2 separate regions of the Homo sapiens genome follow, and region 1 is linked to region 2. The links are contacts of gene promoters, found by promoter capture Hi-C in blood cells and fetal thymus (Javierre and others, 2016). All regions are on one chromosome and are shown on one strand. The core of a region is centred on a gene start or on the middle of the fragment in contact, and the rest is flanking DNA. Distances in the headings are between cores, read along the strand shown.

Region 1 (6,138 bases), core at 2,277-4,776, 260 kb after region 2:
TATTTCTCAGAGATAACTCTTTACTAAAAATTTGACTCTAAGTTTTAATTTTTTAAAAAAGCACGTAGAGCAAAAGTGGGACAAAGAACACCTATGGAGTGTTTACTCCTGATCAGGCAGTGTACTTATAAGGAAACCTCACAGTAGCCCTGGGAGGTACGGACCTCTCACTCTAGTAAGGGTTGAAGAAATTTGATATACACATATACATACACACAAACACCAAACATTTATTTGTACAAAAGTGGGATGATGTTATCCTTATTATACAACTTGATTCTTTCATTCTTAATGTATCACGAACAATTTTACAGAACTGTGCCTGCTGAACATTTTAATATCTACAGTGTTCAATGATATGAAATCAGAATTAAGCAATACCCACATGATTTTTTTTTTTTTTTTGAGACTGGGTTTTCCTCTTGTTGCCCAGGCTGGAGTGCAATGGCATGATCTTGGCTCACTGCAACTTCCGCCTCCCGGTTCTAGTGATTCTCCTGCCCCAGCCTCTCAAGTAGCTGGGATTGCAGGCATGTGCCACAATGCCCAGCTAGTTTTGTATTTTTAGTAGAGACAGGGTTTCTCCATGTTGGTCAGGTTGTTCTCGAGCTCCAGACCTCAGGTGATCCACCTGTCCCGGCCTCCCAAAGGGTTGGAATTATAGGCATGAACCACCACGTCCAGCCTGATTTTTTATTATTACAAACAGTACTGCAGTAAACTACTTTTTTTACATGTATCTTTGTGTATTTGTGTATTTCTGCATGATAAATTTATAAAAGTAGAAACAGCAGATCCAAAAGGGCATGCGTTCTCACATTAAATAAAGAAATCCCCAAGACCAGGTAATTTATAAGAAAAGAGGTTTGATTGGTCCACAGTTCTGCAGGCTGTACAGGAAGCGTGGCAGCATCTGCTTCCGGGGAGACCTCAGGAAGCTTTCACTTGTGGCAGACAGAGCAGGCATCTTACACGGCAGGAGCAGGAGGAAGAGAGTGAGCGGAGAGGTGCTGCACACTTTTAAACAACCAGATCTCACGAGAACTTACTATCACGAGAACAGCGCCAAGGGGATGATGCTAACTCCTTCGTGAGAACTCCACCCCCACGACCTCACGATCCAGCTGCCTCCCACCAGGCTCCATCTCCAACACCGGGGACCACAGCTCGACATGGGATTTGTTAGGGACACAGATCCAAACCGTATCAGCATGTAAATGAAAAATTTTTAATACTTTCCGAACAATCTGGGTAACAGGAAATGAAATGTATTTGAATGTCTCTTCTAAGTGCTGAAGGTATTTTCAAATCCAAGTTCAACTATGAGGCTGGCATCTGGACATTTGTTTCCCAGAGCTGGTTTTAGATTCTTGGTTCTGCAACTGAACGGTTATGAAACTTGGAGAAACAAAGAAAATATGCCTTTCATCGCTCCGGGGCTCGATTTTTTCCATGTGAAGCATGGTAAAATACTCTTTCTGAAGCCTGTTTTTGCTCTAACACCCCCCGATTTGATTAGTGCTTTAGCTCTCTGCCTTTGTTTTCCTATTTATATAAAAGAATTTTATTCCTTTGGCCTTCCAGGATCAATTAGTCAATGGATCCATTAGTGAAGAACTTTCAACCTTGAAGTGCTAAGTAGTTCTGTTATTGCTTGTAGAGCAAGCTGATCTTGGCTGCATGTGATGTAAAACTGCTGCGACTTCTAAAATCGTTGCTGAGTCTTTAAGAGAACAAGATACTTATTGAATCCAAAAGGCCACTCTGTCTCAGCACTCTGGCCTGTGGGGTTGAAGAGAGGCAGGTGTTTGGGAAGGGGATGTTTGGGAAGGAGGTGTTGGGGAAGGAGTTGTTGGGGAAGGGGGAAGGAGGTGTTGGGAAGGAGGTGTTGGGGAAGGAGGTGTTGGGGAAGGAGGTGTTTGGGAAAGAGGGGTTTGGGAAGGAGGTGTTGGGAAGGCGGTGTTGGGAAGGAGGTGTCTGGGAAGGAGGTGTTTGGGAAAGAGGTGTTTGGGAAGGAGGTGTTGGGGAAGGAGGTGTTGGGAAGGAGGTGTTTGGGAAGGAGGTGTTTGGGAAGGAGGTGTTGGGAAGGAGGTGTTGGGAAGGATGTTGGGGAAGGAGGGGTTTGGGAAGGAGGTGTTGGGAAGGAGGTGTTGGGGAAGGAGGTGTTGGGGAAGGGGGAAGGAGGTGTTGGGAAGGAGGTGTTGGGGAAGGAGGTGTTTGGGAAAGAGGGGTTTGGGAAGGAGGTGTTGGGAAGGAGGTGTTGGGAAGGAGGTGTCTGGGAAGGAGGTGTTTGGGAAAGAGGTGTTTGGGAAGGAGGTGTTGGGGAAGGAGGTGTTGGGAAGGAGGTGTTTGGGAAGGAGGTGTTTGGGAAGGAGGTGTTGGGAAGGAGGTGTTGGGAAGGATGTTGGGGAAGGAGGTGTTGGGAAGGAGGTGTTTGGGAAGGAGGTGTCTGGGAAGCCTGATCAGCTATCACATCTCCCTTGGGAATCTTGCCTTCATGCAGTGAGTATTTGCAACTGTATGTCCCTTAACAAAGAAGGAATTGTGTGGACCACATCCTCACAGAACACAGCATGTATTACATGAAGGACTGACCCAATCTGTGTCTGTGGTGTTTGGGACAATAGCTGAGATAATAAGGCCTTCCAATTCCCCCAGGTTCTCCAATCATGCCACATGACCCTCTTAGCATCTCTGATACAATAACCAGAGAGGGGATAGTCATCCCCATTGTTAAGATGCAGATGCAGAAATTCAGAGGGGGGTGCCGACTGTCTCCTATCACATGGCAGCAGCAGGGGGCAGAGCTGGACAGTCCCAGCTCCATCCTGGTTCTGCTGCCATGGGTCTGGGGTGCGTTACTCCCTGGCTCCTTTCTGCTGGCTCTTTTTAATGGCCGGACTCCTCTTGGGAGCTCTGTTCAGTCTAGGCTTATCCAGCTGAGAAGGTGCAGCACTTTGGCATTTTGAGGGACACATACAGGATGCAGCATGGAATGTCTCTGAATTTGGGATCCTGCCGATGGTAAGCTTTAATTTCTAAAACACAAGAAAGAAGAAAGTTAAATGGCTAAAGATTATCTTTAAGATTGTTGCTTCCCAATCTGTCCTCATTCATACCCTTGGGAGCTGGTATTGAAGAAAGTCCTGCAGTGAACTGTAATATCTGGGCCAGAAATAGACAGGGATGACTTACTTGGCTAGTTAGGTGGAAGGTGGATTTTTATTTTCTGGCATCCATGGCCTGAAAAGGAAGCTGAGCTTTTAAGGAAGGATCCAGGTAGCATTGATGGTGCTCTAAGGGGTCCAATTGCACCAAGAATTAAAAAGGCCTCTTCAAACAAGTGAATCAAAATGAAACCACCAGACAGGACTCCCCCAGACAAGATTGGGAGGAAACTTAAACTTGATCAGTTTCTCCTGCAACCTGTCATGTCCTTCCCCTGCACACACCTTCTCCCCTTCCCTTGAAAATCTCAGTTCTCTCCCCTCCCAATCCCTGCCCCATCCCCACCCCAACCTCCACTTCCCTCATCTGTAGCATAACAGGAAGGAGAGTAAATGGGATTGGCTCAGGCACTTTAAAACATCAAGGGCCAATGGCTGTTCTTCCTTTGGTTCCATATCTCCCTTTTCCAATATTCTTTTTCCTTCCAGGGACTATGTGTTTGAATTTTAAAAGAGCAGTGGATACCCATCAACACAAAGAAATCAGGAATGGAGGCAGTGGGAAAGTAAGGGAATTTTCTATCTTCCAGATAATCATGAAGATGAATACTGCATATTTCTCAATAGCATGTAGGGGCTGTTATCAATTAGAAAGGGAAGGCAGAACGAGCACAAGAGAAATGCAATGACTCCACAGTCTAGAAAGGCAGTCAGGATAAACTGCAGTCAGCAACACCCAGGTACAGTTCCTGGATCTGCTCACAGGCAAAAACCCTTTTCTTGGCTTCTGAATTAATGCCTGGATCTTTGGGTCAGAGTAGTGTTTGGTAACTTTCAGAAGAGTTCAGAAGCTTATATTGACCACTTGGCCCCAGTGTATGTGGATCCTTTTTTTTTTTTTTTGAGACAGAGTCTCACACTGTTCCCAGGGCTGGAGTGCAATGGTGCAATCTCGGCTCACTGCAACCTCCGCTTCCTGGGTTCAAGCTATTCTCCTGCCTCAGCCTCCCCAGTAGCTGGGATAACAGGCACCCGCCACCATGCCCAGCTAATTTTTTGTATTTTTCATACAGACGGGGTTTCACTATATTGGCCAGGCTGGTCTCGAATTCCTGACCTCATGATCTGCCCACCTCCGCCTCCCAAAGTGCTGGGGTTACAGGTGTGAGCCACCACACCCAGCCCAGTGTGGATCTTTGGCAGAGAAAATGTACTATAGTTACCAGATTGTTGGACTAGGGCCCTGAAATCTACTTCTTTTCCACCATGCAGTCTCCTATCCAGTCTTCAAAACCTAAGCCAAACACCACTTTCTTTGAGACACCTTCCTGGCCTCCTTCATGTAGATTTACTCCATTCTACCTCTGTGATCCTATGGCCCTGTGTTCATATCTCAGGGCACACACTGTATAGCAAGTAGCACATAACATGCCTGCTTCATCCACTAATCTGTGAGCTTCAGCTCAGGCTGAGGCCATTTTTGTAGCTCTTGAATTTAGCACAGTATACAGCACCCAGCAGATGCTCAATAAATAGTGAATGGGCCGGGCGCAGTGGCTCTCGCCTGTAATCCCAGCACTTTGGGAGGCCGAGGCGGGCGGATCACGAGGTCAGGAGATTGAGACCACGGTGAAACCCTGTTTCTACTAAAAATACAAAAAATTAGCTGGGCGTAGTGGCCGGCGCCTGTAGTCCCAGCTACTCAGGAGGCTGAGGCAGGAGAATGGTGTGAACCCGGCAGGCGGAGCTTGCAGTGAGCCGAGTTTGCGCCACTGCACTCCAGCCTGGGCGAAAGAGCGAGACTCCGTCTCAAAAAAAAAAAAAAAAAAGAAAGTGAACGAATGTGTACTTGCCCTGCCACTAACTAGTTATATATCTTAGACAACTCATTCACTTATCCTCACTGGAATTACTCATTTAGGGTAATGAGTAATAGGGATGGCACAATTTGTGTGACCAATGGGATTATTACGTAGTGCAGAAGAGATAAGATGTGTTCTTAATATAGATATGCTACACAATCACAAAATTCCTAGAGCTGGAAGAAATTTGGAAATCATCTAATACAATGGTTTTCAGAAATTTGAAGCCAAAGAACTGTTTTTTAAGGAAAGCTAACAGGAAAGTCCAATATTTTGGACTAATCTTTTTTTCATAAAAGATAAAAGATAAATGTAAGCTTCTCCAGTTGAAGACCCAGCATACTCTCTCCTTCCTCTCCTCTCCTTTCACCTCCATCCTGGGGATGCAAGAAGCACAGTTTGAAAACCAGCCTCTCACTTTAGTGAGAATAAGCTGAAGCCCAGAGAAGGCAGTGAATTTCCTAAGGTCACAGGGCTAGTTAGAAAGAAAAGTAGACCAGGGAAGGAATTAACACATGAAGACTGCAGTGATATGCAGGACAATAGCTAGTCCTTGAAAAAACAACATACTTAGTGCATACCCATATAATATTAGGGGTGGTCTGTTGTTGTTTTTCTTTTGAGACAGGGTCTCGCTCTGTCTTCCAGGCTGGAGTGCAGTGGTGCAATCATAGCACACTGTAACCTTGAATTCCTGGGCTCAATTGATTCTCCTGCCTTGGCCTTCCGAAGTGCTGGGATTACAGGTGTAAGCCACCGTGCCCAGCACCACATATTATGTTTAATTCTTGCAATATTCTATGAGGAAGTTAGGGCTGTGACGATTTCTGAGATAATGAAACTGAGGCTTTAAAAAATGGGCTTGAATAACATTCCATGGTCAGTTGTAGTAGAAGTAAAAGTAACTAGTAGCTTTATTGAGCACCTAATATGTGCCAGTCACCTTTGTAAGCACGTTACACATATTACCTCATTTAATTATCCAACAACCAGCACCATCATTAGTCATAATTTTACAGAAAAGAAAACTGAGGCACAAATTGGTTGAAGGAGCTGTTTTGGAATCCCTGCACCAGTCTGATTCCATGCAAGCTCTTTTTGCTACATCA
Region 2 (6,081 bases), core at 1,195-3,694:
AGTCTTTCTATCTGCTGTGCAAATGCACAGTGTGAGGTAGAAATCCCTCAGCCTGACCACCCAGGCGCGCGGGGGACAGCGGGTTTGCCCTACACAAGGAAAGCAAGGTGGGGCTTGTTCCAAGAAGAGCTTAACATTTCTTGAAACGTGATTTTTTTTTATTTTGCCTCCATCCTTTCTCTTTGCTTTCATAACAGCAGAAATCATTACTTAGAAATTAAAATGAAATTTCTCTGGAAAGCAAAAGGAAATATGTCTTGACAAACTGTCATTCTCCTCTCTCTGGCTGGTAGTGTGTTCCTGTTCCCGGGAAAGGGATGGGAGCCACGATGATCGATTTTAATCCCCTCCTAATGCTTCTCCCTTCCCCTAACCCACCCATCTTCCACTCCGGTCCTCTCAGAGAGTGTCAAAAACCACCTGGTGGGGGAAAAAAATCTAAAGATGCATCACACGCACACACAAAAGAAGGCCGGACCACAAACAGAAAAAAAAAAAAAAAAAAAAAAGAAGAAGAAAGAAAAGAAAAGAAAAAAAAAACAACAAGGAACATCAGCAAGCCACTCTCCCATCCCTTCCCAAACTTTCCTTTTTGTGCAACGGTCCGTGGCTTTTCTCTTTGCCTCGGATGATTCAGACGAGGATTGTGGGCTTCGAGTTCACCTGCTATCGGTCTTAAGTAAACACAGATCTCCTCGTTCCCCTGGGAAGCCGTGCCCGGAGTCCGCGCCCCGCGCCGGGCCCTACACCTTGGATTCCGAGGCGAAGCCGGGGCGGCACGGCTCGTCCAGGCTCGAGTCGCTGTCCGCCGCCGCCCCGCCGTTGCAGCCGGCCCAGGGCTCCAGCAGGCGCGCGGGCGGCGTGGCCCCGACGACATCGTCGTCGTCGTCGTCCGAGGCGGCCCCGGGCGATGGCGGGGGTCCGGGCCGGGCCAGACAGCCCGAGGCGCGCGGCCGGTCTCCGTGGGTCGCGTGGCGCCGGCGGGCAGCCCTGCGCGCGCAGCAGAGCAGTCCCTGGAAGGCCTTGCGGAAGTCGGGGCTGCGGCAGTAGATGATGGGGTTGAAGGCCGAGTTGGCGTAGCCCAGCCAGTTGAAGAAGACGAAGAGGCGGTCGGGCACCAGCTCGCGGTGGAAGGCCTTCACCACGTTGGCCAGGAAGAAGGGCAGCCAGCAGAGCGTGAAGACGCCCATGATGATGCCCAGCGTCTTGAGCGCCTTCTGCTCGCGCAGGGCCACGAGGCGCGAGGGCCGCCGCTTACCCGCACGCCCGTTGGCCAGCGGGGCGGTGGCGGCGGCGGCGGCGGGGCGCGGGGGTCCGGGCGGCGGCGCGGGCGCGGGGACGGGCGAGGGCGAGGGCGAGGGCGGCCGCGCTGGGCCGCCGAGGAAACGGCGCTCGCAGCTGTCGATCTTCTTCACCTGCTTCTGGGCCTCGCGGAACACCCGCAGGTACACGAAGGCCATGATGCACAGGGGCACGTAGAAGGAGACTACGGACGAGGCGATGGCGTAGGCCCGGTTGGTGACGAAGTCGCAGCACTTGGGGTCGTTGTAGCAGCGGCGCGCCTCGTCGCTCTCCGCCCGCCACCAGTGCATGAGGATGGGCAGGAAGGACACCAGGGCCGAGATGGCCCACACGGTGCACACGAGGCCCCGCGCCCGCGCGCGCGTCAGCAGGCTCTGGTAGCGGAAGGGCGAGGTGATGGCGAGGTAGCGGTCCAGGGCAATGACACACAGGGTCTCGATGCTGGCCGTCACGCACAGCACGTCCACTGAGGTCCACAGCTCGCAGAAGAAGGAGCCGTACTCCCAGCGGCCCCACACCACGATGGTGGCCCCGAACGGCACCACCAGCAGCCCCATGACCAGGTCGGCGCTGGCCAGGGACATGATGAAGAGGTTGGTGAGCGTCTGCAGCCGCGGCGTCTTGGCGATGGCCACGATCACCAGCACATTGCCCGCCACGATGAGCAGCACGATGAGCGCCATCAGCAGACCCATGCCCGCTGTCCACTGCTGAGACAGCGGCTCGGGGCTTTCGCTGGCGGGAGGCAGCAACGAGGCGGGCGGCGACGCGGGCACCAGCAGCCGCGCCGCGGTGGCCGCGCCGTCGGGGAGCGGTGCGGCCGACGACAGGTTACCGGGCTCGGAGGCGCCCAGGACGAGCACCCCCGCGCCCATGCCGAGCTGCGGAGGCCGGGGGCGGGGGGTGTGGCAGGGCTGGGCCGTGGTTGGGGAACACCCCAGAAGCCCGGGCGGCGTGGTGCGCAGAGGGAGGTCGCGGCCGGGTCAGGGCAGCCGCGGCGCGGGGCCGGAGGCATGGGCGCCGGGCGCCTTTCCCGCAGGAGCCGAGCGCTGTCGCTGCCGCTGCCGCCGCCGCCGCCGCCGCCGCTGCTGCTGGAGCCGCTGCCGCTGCTGGAAGAGCCGCCGGGACTTCAGCATGTTTCTGAGCGCGCCGGGCCCGCAGCTCCGGCACCCAGCACCCACCCCACCCCGCTCCCACTCCCCAAGCCAACCCCCGGGGCCTCGCGTCAGGCTCCTGCAGCCAATCCGGGCAAAGGCACGCCCCCGTCTGGTCTGCACCCCCACCTCCAACTCCCCGCACCCCCCTCCCGTTGGCAATTGAGCGGCTCCTGAGAGTCCCGAGCTGATCGCGTAGCTAGTGCCTCCCGTGCGCCCGCGGGTTCCTGCGGACGCACCCCTTCCTGCGCCCGCTGGTTCCTGGTCCCTGTTCCCCCGCGCCCCCTTCCGCGCCTGGCTCCCCCCGGGGCCCCGTCCCCTCCCTCAGCCCCCACTCGCTCCCGCACCCACTCCTGCGCCCCGTTTGCCTCCCGCACCCGCTCCTGCGCCCCGTTTGCCTCCCGCACCCGCTCCTGCGCCCCGTTTGCCTCCAGCACTCGGCTCCCTCCTGCGCCCCCGCTCCCCCCGCATCCCCTCGACCTGCAGTTCCGGGGTTCTCTGCGGAACAGAGCGCTAGCTCCCTTGAGCGGGGAGGGGACCTTGGTGTTCAGGAAGCGCCAGAGCGCCTGGGACAGCTTGTCCGCCAGGCTTGGAGGAGTTTGCCCTGCGAGCTTGGTTGTGATGTGGGGCAGCCTAGCAGGGTGTGTGTAAAACCCTTCCCCCGTCAAGACGGGACCCAGCCAGCATGCGTCGTGACAGCTTGGGGGATTGGAGGTGGGTGTTAGTGGTTAGAAGAAACTTCCCAGCAGAGCGGGTTGCTGGAGCCAAGCGCGCATCTGTCAAGAATGCTCTCTGGGCGCTGTTCTTGCAAGGATCCTCTGTTGAACCTCGAGTGCAGTAGATGTGGAAAGGAAGCGAAGGTTTGTGCATCTAACAGCTAACGCTGAGGGCCCTTTGGAATCGTACACACTCCTCAGTCCTAGCTAATGAACGTGTGAGCATGATGCAAAAATGTATGCTCATGATATGAAAGGAGAGGCTTAGGGAGACAGAAACGTTGAGATACAGAGTAAACGATACCACCGCGAGGGGGAAAAAACGCGTTTAATTACATTTTAGACTTTTCAATGATAACACCTGTATTTTGTGTTTTATTACTCATGTGATTTTATAATTTGAGCTGGGTCAATACAAACAAAAAGGTACTGTCAGTTTATGCTGACGTAATGAACTGCGATTTCAGATTCCTTGGTCTGCGTGCTTGTTTTCTCCTTTGCCCAAGTTCCCAGATTCTCAAAACTCTGAGATTAGTTTTGAAGGGATGAGACAAGAAAACATATAAATACTCCAGAGGATTAAAATCCAAAAGCATTTAAAGTTGTATCTGTGGTTTTTTTTTTTTTTTTTTTTGAGTTGGCAAATGAATTGCTTTGAAATTAGTGAGTTGTTAACCTGGCAAAAAGGATTATACTGGGGGTGAGGGGACAAGAAAGCCATGAATATGCAATATGGCAGGACTGCAAGCCCCTTCTCTAATTTGGCTCCTGTAGTGTCCTCAGCTCAGGCCTGAAATAAAAAAAAAAATAAAAAAATTAAAAAAATCTCTAATTGAGTCCTTGAGGAGTAAACAGCTTCTAATTGTTTATGTAAGGGTGCATGAAAATGTTATATAATGCTCACAGGTCCTTCTAGCATTGGAATAAGAACAGCGCCCGTAACGAACATCATGTTCGTTGATGGTCATCAATATGACCAAGCTCATATCCTTACCTTGCAAGGAGAGACCGACTTCCACAGCTGTCCAGGTCAAAAGCAAAAAGTAATGTTTTTCAAGTTTATATAAAATCAAGCAGTTTTAACCACTTTCTCTTACATAAATGCAAACATATGAATTTGCTTTAGGCCCAAACCTCAGCATCAGTATGTTAAAACTGGGGAGTGATTTGTTTATTCACCCCCTGCCCATGATTTATCAGCTGATTTTCCAACTTGGGGAGGTTGAGGAGGAGTGGCCAGGAAACAAGAGGCGTTAGAAAGGGGAGGAAGGAGACTACACCCCAAGTTATCCAAGTCACTGAAAGCCTGAGACTCCTGGCTTCTTTCTTTTTATTTTTTTGAGACAGAGTTTCACTTTTGTTGCCCAGGCTGGAGTTCAGTGGCGTGATCTTGGCCCACTGCAACCTCTGCCTCCCGGGTTCAAGTGATTCTCCTGCCTCAGCCTGTCAAGTAGCTGGGATTACAGGCGTGTGCCGCCACACACGGCTAATTTTGTATTTTTAGTGGAGATGGCGTTTTACCATGTTGGTCAGGCTGGTCTCGAACTCCTGACCTCAGGTGATCCACCCACCTTGGCCTCCCAAAGTGCTGGGATTAGAGGCATGAGCCACTGTCCCCGGCCTCCTGGCTTCCTTCTGGACCCACAAGGGGCAGTCTCAAAATAGCCAAGGGATTGGAAGAAGTTGAAATTGACGCTGCCCAGGAAAGGAGTTCTGAGTGCTGAGCTGCAGGGTGAGGCATAGGGAATGTGGGGAAGAGGCTTTTCCTTGCCATCTTTCTGTCAAGTGGTGTTACCGGAATAGAGTGTGTCAACCTTAAATGCCCCCGAAGGGTGGAAGGCATTGCTTTTCTGTGTGCGATAAGGCCAGAACTTGGTCGTAGAGGTTCAGGGCAGAAGCCAGATTGCCAGTAACTTTGCCGTATCATCATTATATATATAAACACATCGTGACATTGGAATTGTTGGAAAACTTTCCTGAAACTTTTTTTCTCTGCTCATTCAGAGATACATCAAGTTTCTCCGAATTTCTGTATAATACATTAAATTATAAACCCTCGAAACCAGAAGGTTATTCTAGCAGGAGTACCAGTACAGGGATCTCAGGAATTCTGGGGGATTTCCTTCAATTTTACTGACAGAAGAGTTTGGAATAGTACATGTTCAACTAGAGTTGGTTGTCTAATAAAAATAAAATGTTCTCAGAACTCCTTTAATTCCTACATTTTATGATTGGTGTTTTTTTTTTTTAACTTTTTTTTTAGCCTAACACTTTTTATTCTTAGGTAAGGATACAAGATCAAGAAGAAAAGGTTCAACGTATCAACTTTTACAGGTATCGGATATTGTAAGTTAAATAAAACTCCTTCATTTCTTCATTCTTCACTTGGCAACTGTTAAAGAGAGTCAGTTCTAAAAACCCATATATTTCACAATGCTTTGGAAAATGACAGAAAGCTCCAACAATGAGGGCTGATCAGCACACTTGAGAGGTCGTGCACTTCTTCCACAGAGTTCCTATCTCAACTTCTTCCTTTCCCATCCCCCCACCTTCACCCCACACCGGGACTTGCCATGGGTTCTATTTGATCTCCCTGTCTCTGGTCCTCCCTGCTCCATTTAATCTGGCATATCATAACCAAAGGAGTATTTCCAAAATGCTGCTTTGACCAAGATGCTTTTCTGTTCAGCAACCTTACCTCTTCAATTTAACATTCACAGTTCTCCCCGGTCCAATTCTAAATGGCCTTTCCAGCCCTATTTCATATTAGAACTCTCCTTATCACCATAACTTGCATTTCTGTATTCTTTTTCCTTTTGGGGATCCATACTCCTTCCTTTTGTACATCTATACTTTCTCACTGGGTTCCCTCCACCAAAACCTCCTCCTGCTTCCCAGCGAATTCAGCC

What was found. The method cuts DNA at HindIII sites, captures the fragments that hold promoters and counts their contacts. A CHiCAGO score of 5 or more calls a contact.
Region 1: a fragment that was not itself captured here is called in contact with the fragment with the promoter of ADRB1 in region 2 in 1 of 17 cell types (megakaryocytes); the score reaches 7.2 in megakaryocytes.

What each region holds. Positions count from the first base shown.
Region 1 is chr10:113,777,502-113,783,639 of GRCh38, reverse strand. PLEKHS1 (pleckstrin homology domain containing S1) reads right to left here. Exons shown (of 13, transcript NM_001395068.1): 13 at 211-3,038. The coding sequence ends at 2,859. It overlaps MIR4483 (microRNA 4483), which reads left to right and starts at 5,586; the gene lies at 5,586-5,647. The HindIII fragment of the contact is 989 bases long and covers 3,032-4,020 here.
Region 2 is chr10:114,040,229-114,046,309 of GRCh38, reverse strand. It overlaps ADRB1 (adrenoceptor beta 1), which reads right to left and starts at 2,444. Exons shown (of 1, transcript NM_000684.3): 1 at 1-2,444. The coding sequence starts at 2,177. The coding sequence ends at 744. RefSeq lists silencers at 2,347-2,406, 2,477-2,756 and an enhancer at 3,027-3,076. The HindIII fragment of the contact is 8,909 bases long and covers 1-6,081 here.